Regions from separate parts of the Homo sapiens genome. Here all the other regions are linked to region 1. The links are contacts of gene promoters, found by promoter capture Hi-C in human tissues and cell types (Jung and others, 2019). All regions are on one chromosome and are shown on one strand. Each heading gives the region's core, a stretch centred on a gene start or on the middle of the fragment in contact. The rest is flanking DNA. Distances are from core to core; before and after follow the strand shown. Region 1 overlaps CHCHD4 (coiled-coil-helix-coiled-coil-helix domain containing 4). Region 2 holds the start of MRPS25 (mitochondrial ribosomal protein S25). Region 3 holds the start of HDAC11 (histone deacetylase 11).

Region 1 (4,136 bases), core at 1,217-3,716:
ACTAGTCTGACCAGTCCTTTCTTTCACAGTTAGGTCTGTTAGGAATAGGTAAGCCTTGTCCTTGCATCAGTCCTTGAATCGACTTTTAAAAGTTCCAGAAAGCAAAGGCCCTCTAGGACAGGCATACAATGGACAGTTTGTAGGGGACATACTCCAGATCTTTCAGACCAGAGTTCCTGTTCCTGTTCTGCCTTCATTTACTGCATGTCTTTTGGTCTGTTTCTCAGATCCTGTGGTCTCTGTAAAATGGAGATAAAGTAATACCCACCAGTGAACTCACAGATGTAATAAAACACATTGCATGGGACAAAAATGTGTAAAAGATACAGCTGTTACTGTTCTACTTTCGATCCAGTGTGAACTGTGCTGCAAGGGAAAATGTCCAGGAAGGCACATGTGAGGACCTGGCCCAGTGGGAGGGACCTGGAATTCTCAGTGGGATTGTGCTAGGCTGGTGTTTCCTAACCTGGCTGTGTATCACAGTCACCTGTGAAGCCCGTGAGCTACATGGACATGGCAGAGAGCTCGATTCAGCTTTTCTTGGGTGAGGCCTGGTCTCTCTATGTATGGCAAACCCCAGGAGGGCCTCATACTTTACCACGTTTGGACCCTTTGCTTTCTGTGCCTGTGACTGGGCCTCCCCGTTGGGCTGCGCTGAGCTGCCATCTCGGTAAACAAAACTGCCAGAGCTGAGTTGCGAAATTTGCATCAGCTCATTCTGCTTAGCGTTCAACATTTTTACAGATTGCTTTTGAGTATTTTGGAAACTGGCCAGAATAGTAGAATCAAGGTTACTAGGTACTTTAACAAGTCCTGGCTGCCTGGTCCAAAAGCTTTCCCCAGTCAGCCACAGGGGAAAAGCAGCCTTCTGTTGGATGACATGCAAGGTATTGAGGCAGAGGCCAGCTCTGGGAGCAAAAGCCTCCAGTGGGTTGGGGGTCCTGGCCCCGTGTGCTGAGGGTTTTTTGTTGTTACTCTGTTCTAGTGTAAGAGACCCTGTGCAGTGTGGGCATGGCGTAAGGCACCAAAGTGCCCTCCCTCTGTCCCCTGAACTGTCCTTCTCACTGGAGATGTCGCTCGGTTTTTGTTGTCACTGCCCCCTTCCTTCCAGAAGCCTCTTCCTTAATTACTTCAGCCCAAGCATGGGCCCAAACCTTTTTCCTTGCTTTCCCCTCAGCATAGCTGTGACTGAACTTTTCTAAATATAAACAAAAAGTATAAAGTGATCAGAGATGCCCGCAGCTTTCACAGGGCCACGTTTCTGCAGGTCCGGCCTCTGCGCCCACAGTGGCCACTCACTCAGAGCCATGCACTGTGGCTCTCTGCCAGGCACTTTTGGCCATACCTGAAGAAGTCTTCTTAAATGCTTGGCACCTCCTATCCCCTTCCAGATGAGGGTCCCAGTACCCCAGATCTTCTAGGATCAGAATGCATGGTCAGTTGGTCTGTAGAATTTGTCATTCACCTTCACCAGGAAAGTACAAGAAAGATCTTGTTTGTTTACTTGGCAAACATTTCACTTGGTTCTAAGCTTTTTGGGGCCGAGGTTGGGTCAGAATTTATTGTATTTATTCATTGCCCAAGGTGCACAAGCTCTCAGGCAGTGCCCAGTCATGCTAAGTGCTCAGTGTCAGCTGTCGATTATTCTTGTGCAAATGTTGGTGCGGGGCAGTATGGGTGTGTAGAAAGGATCTCCAACAGTGTAGACTTCAGAGCATCCTGTCCTGTGTGGCCCAGCAAGTTACTACTCACAGCCTCAGGCTCACCACCATTAAAAGGGGATGCTGCTACCTCCCTCTCAGGGTGGCGATAGGATGGAGGAATGAGCTCACACGGAGGACCAAAAGATGGACTGGCTCTGTCTGTTCTCTGGGGACAGCTGGAGAAACTGATGACCCACCGTGCAGTGTGGGGTACTGAGGACAAGGTGCTCCTTGCCCACAATGGGAATATCTGACACATACCTGTGGTGTGGTTAGCTGATGGCCAAAGTTTTTAGGGAGGTGAGGTAAAGTGTTGACAGCTACAAGGTGTAGCAGAGAGGGCTGTAAGGACCTCCCTTCTGCTTAACTCAGCCTTGGTTTTCTGTTGTACTCCATGGGGGCTGAGGGTGATAATACTTCATAGGGGGTCACTCTAAGGCAGTGAATGCACCCACCCTGGTTTGGCCAGGACTGATGTGCTTTTCTGTGCTCACCCAGCCTCCAGTGAGGAGAAGCTCCTAATATAAAATGCATTTGACTCTCACTGGTCTGTTTTCCTGGAGCCCTCAGACCTTCCGGCAGCCAGGCCCCAGGGTGAGGGCTCTGGTTGTGAACAAGGTGCTCTGCACTTTAGGCCTGCTGGCTTTCCCATGCTGGTCCTCACAGGACCACAGTCCTGACCCTAACCACTGTTGGGTTTGTCCTAAAAAAATAAACTGCAGATGGTCACAGTTAAAAAGATCTGAGAAGTGCTCCTCCCACTGCCCCCCTCCAGTTATTATACTTGTTGGGAAATGGTCCCCCGGCCTCTTGGACTGTGGGGAGTGGAACGGCTGCAGTGTTCCTCACCTTATGACCCTTCCTTCTTCCGGCCACGATTAGGAGCCCAGAGGCCTAGTGGGGGTGCTGGCTGTGGTCCCTCTCAGACCACCTGTGTCCTCAGCCTTTCAGAGGCAGGGGCCTGTGGCCGCATCAGCTATGTGGGCTGCAGTGATCTGTAGGCTGAGGACCCACATCACTGCACACTCACTTTGCCAATGTGCTCAGTCTTCCTTCAACTTTTATGCATTCTGAACCCTGTGGGTCAACCCCAGGACACTCTTTTTCTTCAGTGCTTCTTTTCCTGCCCTGCCCCTTATCCATCCGCTTTTGTTTGCTACCCCTAGCATATGAGAGCAGTTTGATAGTCACCTCACATAGGGATGGCATATGGGAGAGTCTTCAAACTTGGTTTGTGTGGCGGCTGCTTTGGGTTTAAAGCTGATTCACTGCTCTTGAATGAAATATTTCTTCCTCTGTTCTCCAAACACTAGGGAAGGATCGAATCATATTTGTAACCAAAGAAGATCATGAAACTCCAAGCAGTGCAGAATTGGTGGCTGATGACCCCAACGATCCATACGAGGAGCATGGTGAGTGACATGTGGCCTCCCAGGGACCCACACCAGGGCACTGGGGAGAAGCTCAGTGTTCTTAATTCCTTTCCCATGTTTTCCTAGCCAAGGCCAAGTTTTCAGGTATCTATTCTCAGCCATAGACCATCTCTGAGGGCAGTGGTTTATCTTCCTCAGAGGTTTGAGGGACTGTGCTTTCCAGCCTTGTTCTGATGTACTTCCCTGGCACAACAGCTAAGTTTTGGGAGAGGGTATTAGTAGATTCCAGCAGTTATAGGTAGGTTAAGGTGACAGGGCTTTTGCTCAGACAAGTTGCCAGACTGAATTCTGCCACATCTACCAACTTTATTAGCAAGTAGACAGTCATTCACCTTGTTCTGTAAGGTTGGTGAAGTCCCTGCTGTCTCTAACTGCTCCAGCAAGCACCTTACATGAAAAGGTCACTTGCCACAGACAGCTTTCTAGCAGCAGGAGTCAGCTAACCTAGTCAGAGCTGTTGCTCACTCCTTGGTTAATGGCTGAATATAACAGTGGTCGCTTAGGCCTAGGACATTGTTCCAAAGGATTTGGGCTGCTAAACTCACTAGATACTTACTACTGCAGACCGTGTGAGGTGGATGTGTGTGTGCAGTGTCCATGAACAATCTACGTATTGTACAGTAGTCACTTCACCAATCAAAAACCACTTCTGATGTCCATGATGACAACTAATCTTCTAGTGCTAACTGGTAATTGAAGAGCTTGAAGCAGCCGCCTCGAGAATATGGGCTCCTGATTGGAATTTCTCAAATGCTAACTGATGTGTGTATATTCCTTGTAGGACCCTTCACTTGTTGCCCTGACTGCTCCTAGGGGTTAAAGCATAAAATACATATCCAGCACCCAGTGGGAGCAGTGGGAAATGCAGACGTTATACAAAGTGTTAGCATTCTGAGAAAGACAGCTGCAAGGGTAATCTTGATCAGGGCTTACATGTCAATTCTAGTACCTTGCTTATCTTTAGATCCATATTAAGCACATTTCATTAATTGATCAAGAC
Region 2 (4,136 bases), core at 661-3,160, 950 kb before region 1:
GTTGCAGTGAGCCAAGATAGTGCCATTGCACTCCAGCCTGGGTGACAGAGCGAGACTTCGTCTCAAAAAAAAAAAAAAAAAAAATTAGCCAGGCATGGTGGTGTGCACCTGTAGTCCCAGCTAAGTGGCAGAGGTGGGAGAATTGCTTGAGCCCAGGAGGTAGAGGTTGCAGTGAGCAGAGATTGCACCAGTGCACTCCAGGCTGGGTGACAGAGACTTTGTCTCAAAACAAACAAACAAACACCCTAAGAATCAAAAGGAAGTGCTAGAAGTTAAAACCTTAAATGAAAAATGCCTTAATGGGCTTATCAGTAGACTGTCCATAACCAAAGATTAAATGAATTTGAAGATAGGTCAACAGAAACTTCCCCACTAAAATGCAAAGAGAACCTCCATCACCCCGCCAGAACATTCGAGAACTATGAGGCAATTCCAGAAGACATAAAATGCATTTAACTTGAATACTAGAAAGAGAAAAGAGTGAAGAATAAATACCTGAACTAATAAATGGCTAAGAACTTTACAAAATTAATGACAGACATGAAATCACAGATCCAGGAGGCTCAGAGGACTCCAAGCAGGACAAATACAAAACATCTACAGATCTGCATTACCTTATTCTAACCCCGTAAACCAAACACCAAGAGAAAATTTGAAAGAAGCTAAAGGAAAAAGCCATCATACCTATAAATGTAATTGCATTTAATTACTTGTTTGAAACCATGCAAGCAAAAAAAGAGTGGAGTGAACTATTTAAATTGTTGAAAGAAAAACACCAGGGCCAGGCGCAGTGGCTCACGCCTGTAATCCCAGCACTTTGGGAAGCTGAGACGGGCGGATCATCTGAGGTCAGGAGTTTGATACCAGCCTGACCAACATGGAGAATCCCCGTCTCTACTGACAATACAAAATTAGCTGGGTGTAGTGGCGCATGCCTGTAAGTCCGGCTACTCGGGAGGCTGAGGCAGGAGAATCACTTGAACCTGGGAGGCGGAGGTTGCGGTGAGCCAAGATAGCACCATTGCACTCCAGAAGGGAGGGAGGGAAAGGAAAAACACTAACCTAGAATTCTAAATCTGGCAAAATCACTCTTCAAAAGAGAAGGAGAAATACCTTTCAGATCAAGAGTACTTCAGAAATGTATCTTTTTTTTTTTTGAGAGGGAGTCTTGCTCTGTCGCCCAGGCTGGAGTGCAGTGGCGCGATCTCGGCTCACTGCAACTTCCCGGGTTCGAGCGATCCTCCCACCTCAGTCTTCTGAGTAGCTGGGACCACAGGTGCTGCCACCACACCAGGCTAATTTTTGTATTTTCAGTAGAGACGGGGTTTCGCCATGTTGGGCAGGCTGGTCTCGAATTCCTGACCTCAAGCGATCCTTCCGCCTCGGCTTCCCCAAAGGCTGGGTTTACAGGCGGGAGCCACCGCGCCTGGCCCTAGAAATACATCTCACCCATAGTTTGTTTACGAAAAAATTGAGGTCCTGAGTTAAGTGGCTGAATTTAGGAAGGAATTGATCCCAAACCATCTTTTTTTCTTTTGCTAAGAAGTTTAAGTCAACGTCAGAAAGTGCAGTTTGAACTCTTCATGATAAAACTGGAGATGTTTGGGGAGAAAAATGGACAATACGTTCAATAGGACGTTATCAGCTGACTTGGTATCCAAACTGAGCTTTCCTGATTATTTCTTATTGCAATGTCTGACTTTTAGCCTATGTAAAAATATTTTCCCGTGGGTGGATGGGGAAATGACTAATTTACAGGACGCGACAACCTAAACCTTCCAAGGGGAAGGCGTCCTAAAGCGAAGCTGCACACACCGGTTCTCGCCGCGCCGGGTCGAAGGCCGCCTACAAGTCCCAGAGTGCTCCGCGGCGTGCGCTGCCCGCCGGGAAGCGTCTCCTGTGCGTCTGCGCGGGAAGTGGAACCTGGCTCTGGGGAGAAGCCGCGTGAGATCCGCGCGGGTGCTAGCTAGTCCTTTCTCGTCGCTGCTCGGCTCGCGGCCCGTGGGGTCGGCCCCGCCACCGTTGCCGCCATGCCCATGAAGGGCCGCTTCCCCATCCGCCGCACCCTGCAATATCTGAGCCAGGGGAACGTGGTGTTCAAGGACTCCGTGAAGGTCATGACAGTGAATTACAACACGCATGGGGAGCTGGGCGAGGGCGCCAGGTCAGTCGCAGCCCCGGCCGCCTGGCGAGCCGTAACCTGCTAGTCGTGCCAGCCTGCTGGTAACGTGAGGTCCCGAGTCGCTCTGGGCGGCCGTTCATCCCCGGGGCGGGCCCCCCAGGTCGGCGCTGTTACCCCCATTTTACAGAGGTCCAGACTGAGGCGGACGGCGGGGCCCCCGCCGGGCCGGCTGCAGTCGTGACGAGGTTTGGGGGGCGGAGGACAAGAACCCCACTCCTGGATCTCCTTCCTCCGGCGCGGTGGGCGAGGCTGACCCGAGGGAGGCCACCAGTTCCCTTGGCCCCTCTGGCCAGCAAGGCAAGCGCTGGGGAGGGGCAGCCGCAGATCCTTTCGGGGTGACGGGGGTGACACCCCAGGACGAATCTGAGGATAAAATGAGAGAAATAACAGCGGCGAACACTGATCATATCTCGCACAGTTCTGAATGCTTCTCGCGCTTTCTTTTTTCTGATGCCTAGAGAAACCCCAGCTTATCCCCACTCTAAGGCTGGGGAAGCGCACAGAGAGGTTAAGTAACTTGCAGCTCCACGAGACACCATGCCAGCCGGTGAGCGGTGAGCCGGGCAGTGTGGCCGCTTCCTTCGGGACTCAAGGTTTGGAAGGAAGTGATTAATTATGTCAGCTGTGCAGCGGCAGACCCTACCCCGACTAGAAGGAACTGTAGGGAACGCCTAGGATGTCTTTCAGCTTGGAGCAGAGTAGGGACTCATTGAATGGCAGTTGGCAAGTGAAAGGTTTGGATTGACCCTGAGGCAGCCCTAAGCAGTGCCTTAGGCTCTGCAGGTATGAAGTCTACATTTATTGAGTACACTCTGAGTGCTAGGCTGTGTGCTGTGTGCTGGGAGTTCAGCAGTGATGGAGGAGGCAGCCTTAGCCCGCAGAAACTTTGGGACTTGGGTGTATGTTGGATCAAAATGAGGCGTGGGGGCGGGGAGCAACTTCTTGTGGGGCATGGTCCCCTTGGTGACGGACCTTCACTGCATGGCCCTTCAAGAGATCCGGAAGCCGCTTCCTAGCCATTTGCTCTGCGCAGGTGAATCTGATAACTTGGACCTGCTTGCCTGGAATCAGCTGGCTTGATGGCTTCCTGGAAGACTTGGTCTTGGTCTTAGGGTGTATGGGCACCCAGATACTCCTTCATAACCTACTGCACAACTGTGCACACCTTTGTCCCCGGGCAACTGCCAGGCAGATAATGGGAAGGGGTGGGGGTCTCGGTGCGGCCCGCAGCGAGCTGGAGAGCACATGCCCTATCCAGAGGGCCCTTCACTGTTTGGCATTGTGGGCTCCGTGGAGAATTTCTCATTTGTCAAGAAGCTGAAATCTAGGTTTTTATGTAAATCTCTGGCTTTTAAATGGCCAGCCAATCAAAATAAGCCTGTGAGCCTCTTACTTACATTCTCAGATATTTTAATGTCCTCTAGGTAAATGGGATACAAACAGCCATTCACTGTTTCTTTGTTCCTGGTGGTAGGGGCTGGCCTGTGCCACCTGTGCCCTCTGTGATCTTGTACCCGTGGGTTGGAGTCTGTCTGCCTTGCTCTGGCTAGCCGCAGTCCTCCCCCAATCCCCAGCCCTTGTTTGTTCATGTGCCCTCAGCCCTTCAGCTGCCCCACTGGGACCTACCTCCATCCCAAGTGCCTGCGACCGGTCCAGCCAGTCTTTGGGTACCTGCTGGGGGCAATGGGAAGGTGCCTTATTTAGTATTTGAGGGCCAAGTCCTTACTCACCTCTGCCAGGTGTTCTACCCTGAACAAGTGGTCCCCAAGCCTCAGGGTGAATTTGATGGTGACAGAACAGTGTGATCGAAGGCCAGACTAATCAGCCCAGTTAGACCTGGGGCAGTTTACTTAACTTCTGACCTTAGTTTCCTTAAATTGTAAAACCCCACCTTCTGGGGTTGGAGAGTCAGGTGCCTAGCAAAGTGTCTGGCATATACAGCAGTTGCTCAACT
Region 3 (4,136 bases), core at 931-3,430, 640 kb after region 1:
ATGATATTACAGGAGGCTCAGTGTGGCATGGCCTCGCAACACCTGCCTGTGCTTTGCTCATCTTCCGTTCAAACCACTAATCAGTCTCACAGCCTGCAGGCAATAGTAACCAGCCTGGATTGAATTATACTGTTGTTTTCATTGCATTTACTTTTTTACCATGACCTATTTATGGCAAGTGAAACTGCCTTTTCCCATTTTGATGACATAATGTTTCCTTTTAAAACAAGTTTAAGTGAATTTCCCACCTAAATCAGGCCCCTTGATTACAAACCACAGTTAAAACGATATGCTCTTCGAAGCATCATTTTGCTCAAGGGGATGAGCCCTAAAGGTAGGGCGCCTGGAGCTCTGAGTTCCAAACCCAACTCCGCCTCTTGTAACTGTGTTACTTCAGCCACTAATGGGAGCTGTGTCCTTCCCTGGAAAGAGGTCACAAGCAGGCAGCCAGTGTGCCCAGTTCGGTCTACAGGTGGGCTTTTACAATCTTATAATGAGTGCCATATTAAGAAATCAGGGCCGGGTGTGGTGGCTCACGCCTGTAATTCCAGCTACTTGGGAGGCTGAGGCAGAAAAATTGTTTGAACCTGAAAGGCGGAGGTTACAGTGAGCTCCTGAGCCTCTGCTGCGATTGTGGTGCCTACCCCGAGGGCTGCTGTGAGGACTGGACTGGAATTGGGTGCACATGTTTCCTAATCATTCTAGGACACAATTTCCCCCATCTGTAATCAAGAGAGGTGCGGTGGAGGTGCTCTACCTCCTGACTCTCTGAACCTTAGGAAATGGACTCCTCCAAGCTTCACCTTCCCTGTGCCCATCAGTAATCAGCTACCTTTCCACTAGGCCTCTTGGGCAGAGGCAGGACTTAGGCCCACAGGATGGGGAGCCAGGGAGAGTCTGAGTCAGGGACATCATATCGTGATTAGGAGTCTGTGTTGGAAAAATCATTTTGGGCGGAAGCATGGGTGGAAGGCCATCCGAGGGCTGAAACTGAAGATGGGAGAGAGCCTGAGGCTTATGTTGGGGATGAGGACGGAGAGGACAGGTGGGTTGGAGGAAGCAGATGAGAGTCCAAGGGGGACCTTCCATACCTTTTAGGAAATTGATCACTTTGCCCCATTTTCCGGCATCAAAGGGATGCAGCTTCTCCAGGCCCATGAAGGTGATGTTGTAGCGCGGCGAGTACACGATTGGCCAGCGTGTCTCTGGCACATGCTGGTACAGCTGGGTTGTGTGTAGCCTACCGTGTGGAAAAAGACAGACGCACAGCTGGGGCAGCCTCGGCAGAAAGCAGCTCCCTCCCGAGCCCGCCTGGACTGACCCACCAGCCATTGCCCAGCACCACTAGCCCCTCAGCCGCAGACAAGGGCCCCTCAACAACAGCTGCTTAAACTGGCTGCCTTTCCCGGAACCCAATTCCAATCCAGTCCTCACAGCAGCCCTGGGGGTAGGCACCACAATCGCACCAGAGGCTCAGAGAGCAGACCAGGTGTGCCCAAGGTCACAGTGCAGGTCTGTGGAGAAGCAGGCGTGCACTCAGGTGTGTCTGGCTGCAAGGCCTCCGCGCATCACCTCTGCACCGTAATAAATGCCCCCACAGCTGTGTGGCACAAGGCTTCGGCTGCAAAATGTGTGGCTGTTGTGAGGACTCAGAGAATGCAACTGAGGAGCTGAGCACAGTAAGCACTCAGAAACCCAAGTCGGGACCCAACCTGAGCCAGGGCGGGGGGCGGGGATCCCCTGACCCCGCTGCGCTGCTAACCCTTCCCATCACACCCTGGCAGTCGTCACCCAGAGACAGAAATCCGCCCCAGTGGCTGCCTCCGTGGGGGCGTCCGCGTAGCCAGGGGGCTGGGCAGCGCAGACGTCAGACCCGCGCACATCGCCCGACCGCTCCGGGTCCGGGCCCAGGCCCGCGGCCGGCGCGCGTCCCTCGGGCCACCGAGCAGGGGCGCGGGGCTGGCCTGGCGCGCCGGGAGGGCCTGGAAACACCCGTCCCGAGCGTCCCTCACCCCTCACCAGCAAATCTGGGCCCTTACCTGGCGCGCCCGCCCGGCCGTCCCCGCCCTCGCCCTAGCGCGCCCGCCCACCGGGACCCCTGGGAGCCCACCCCCGCCCTCGCCCCGCGGCACTCACATCCCGGGGCCGGCCCTCCCAAAGCTGGCCGCAGCTCCGCGACCGGGCGGGGCGGGGCGGGGCGCGGGTGGGGCCAGCCCAGGACACGCCCCCGGGCTTAGCCGCGTCCTCTGGGGGCAGAGCTCTGGCCGATTTGGCCCGCCCCGCCAGTGTTGCGACACAGAGAGCCTGCCCGCAGGAAGGCCACCCCCAACGCCCATCAAGCCCGAAGTCCCGCCTCCGCAGGCAAATACCCGGTGGAATCCCGCCTGGTTCGGAAGCTCCGCCCCCTGGCGGGAGGGCCAAGCGGGTTTCACCCCGGCCTCGCGGAAGGGGCGCGACCACCGTATGTCCTGTTCCTGCGCTTCCCAAGCTGGGTAGAAACGGCGAGAGGCTGGGGGTTAGAAACGACAGGTTCCCGGCGGGCTGTGCCGGGGCTTCGCTGTGTGACCTTGGGCTGGCGTCTGGGCTCTCTGGGCCCTTGTTTCCGCGAGTTAAACGTAGGGGCGGGGGAGTTTCTCTGGCCCTGCCGCCTGTGACCTAAGGAGCCCCGTGACCTCTCCGACCCGAGCCCACCCCCGGCCCAGTCTGCGAGCAGCTCCGGGACAAGCACTCCCGGCGAAGACATGTAGGCTCTCAGAGCCTGCGTTTCCCTCTGTAGAGCAGGCCTAGTTACTGTCTTCAGGGTGCACGCGTCTCCGTCCCCGACCCGCACCCTCACCGCCGGGGTAAGCTGAGCCAGGCCCAAGCGACAGCTGGGGTTGTCCGTGGGGCTGCAACCCAGGAGGAGGCCCCAACAATAGAGCCCCAGAGGACGGAGACAATGGGCCTCTCTGTCGGCCCAGCCGTCCCCGCCATCCAAACAGAAGCAGCTGACGGAGGACTGCCGGGCTGGGATCCCTGGGCTCCGCGGGGGCGGCTGTGTGCCAGGGCGGGGCACAAGGGAAGCGCACAGACGTTTGAAGAGGGGCCCCCGTGTGCCTGCCATGATTGCATGATGGCATCTGAGCCTCACAACCTAATCCTGAGAAAGGTGCCATAATCACCCCAACTTTATCTTGAGGGAACTGAGGTTCGGGCCTGGATTAAACCCAAACTCGGCCACCCGCCAGCATAGTGGCTTTGGGCAGGTTGCTTCAGCCTTCTGGTCCTTCATGTCTGCATCTGAAAATGAAGTACTGGGCCGGGTGCGGTGGCTCACGCCTGTAATCCCAGCACTTTGGGAGGCCGAGGCGGGTGAATCACCTGAGGTCAGGAGTTCGAGACCATCCTGACCAACATGGTGAAACCCCGTCTCTACTAAAAATACAAAAAATTAGCTGGGCGTGATGAAGGGCGCCTGTAATCCCAGCTACTCGGGAGGCTGGGGCAGGAGAATCGCTTGAACCGGGGAGGGGAGGTTGCGGTGAGGCCGCGCCATTGCAATCCAGCCTGGGCGACAAGAGTGAGACTCCATCTCAAAAAAAAAAAAAAGGAAGAAAATGAAGTTCTGGTTGCACTTCATTCTCTGGATTTCATGGGCAAGTCCAGGGAATCAAGAGACAATAATGTTGATTATTATTCAGAGACCATCTGTCATGTGCTAAGTTGAAGTCCAAATGCTTTTTGCTTGTCGAACTCTTCTGACAGTCCTAGGAGGCAAACTATTGTCATCCCCATTTTATAGATAAAGAAATTGAGGCACAGAATGGTGAAGTAACTCACTCAAAGGTCAGGGATGTGGGCAGATGTAAACCACAGAAGGAATAAGTACTATTTTATAAAGTGACAGAGTGCATGCAGTGGCCCTGTGGCATTTGTGAGAGACCGACTTCCCCTCAGGGAACTTGCTCTGTAGTTTGGGAAGCCACACAGATGATCCTCTGGTTGGGAGAATGAGGATCTGGGCAGCCTGGACCTGAAGCTGAGGCCAAAGAGAGTGGGATTGGTCTGAATAAGTGGGTTTTTAAATTTTTTTAATTTTTAAATTATTTTTTAAGAGACACAGCCTCACTATATTGCTAAGGCTGGTGTCTAACTCC

Evidence for each region. Contacts are between HindIII fragments. The study calls those that stand out against the background at their distance.
Region 2: the fragment with the promoter of MRPS25 here is called in contact with a fragment that was not itself captured in region 1 in 1 of the 25 tissues and cell types used here (spleen).
Region 3: a contact is called between the fragment with the promoter of HDAC11 here and a fragment that was not itself captured in region 1, in 1 of the 25 tissues and cell types used here (dorsolateral prefrontal cortex).

The regions. Positions count from the first base shown.
Region 1 is chr3:14,115,405-14,119,540 of GRCh38, reverse strand. CHCHD4 (coiled-coil-helix-coiled-coil-helix domain containing 4) reads left to right here. Exons shown (of 3, transcript NM_001098502.2): 2 at 3,017-3,115. Among named protein-coding and RNA genes, the nearest start is that of CHCHD4, 7.4 kb to the left of the region's middle. The HindIII fragment of the contact is 4,215 bases long and covers 359-4,136 here.
Region 2 is chr3:15,063,089-15,067,224 of GRCh38, reverse strand. It overlaps MRPS25 (mitochondrial ribosomal protein S25), which reads left to right and starts at 1,910. Exons shown (of 4, transcript NM_022497.5): 1 at 1,910-2,164. The coding sequence starts at 2,031. RefSeq lists an enhancer at 1,751-1,930. The HindIII fragment of the contact is 13,424 bases long and covers 1-4,136 here.
Region 3 is chr3:13,478,350-13,482,485 of GRCh38, reverse strand. It overlaps HDAC11 (histone deacetylase 11), which reads right to left and starts at 2,180. Exons shown (of 10, transcript NM_024827.4): 1 at 2,137-2,180; 2 at 1,092-1,240. The coding sequence starts at 2,138. It overlaps HDAC11-AS1 (HDAC11 antisense RNA 1), which reads left to right and starts at 2,433. Exons shown (of 2, transcript NR_046690.1): 1 at 2,433-2,843. RefSeq lists enhancers at 1,459-2,115, 2,765-2,824 and a silencer at 1,815-2,304. The HindIII fragment of the contact is 10,065 bases long and covers 1-4,136 here.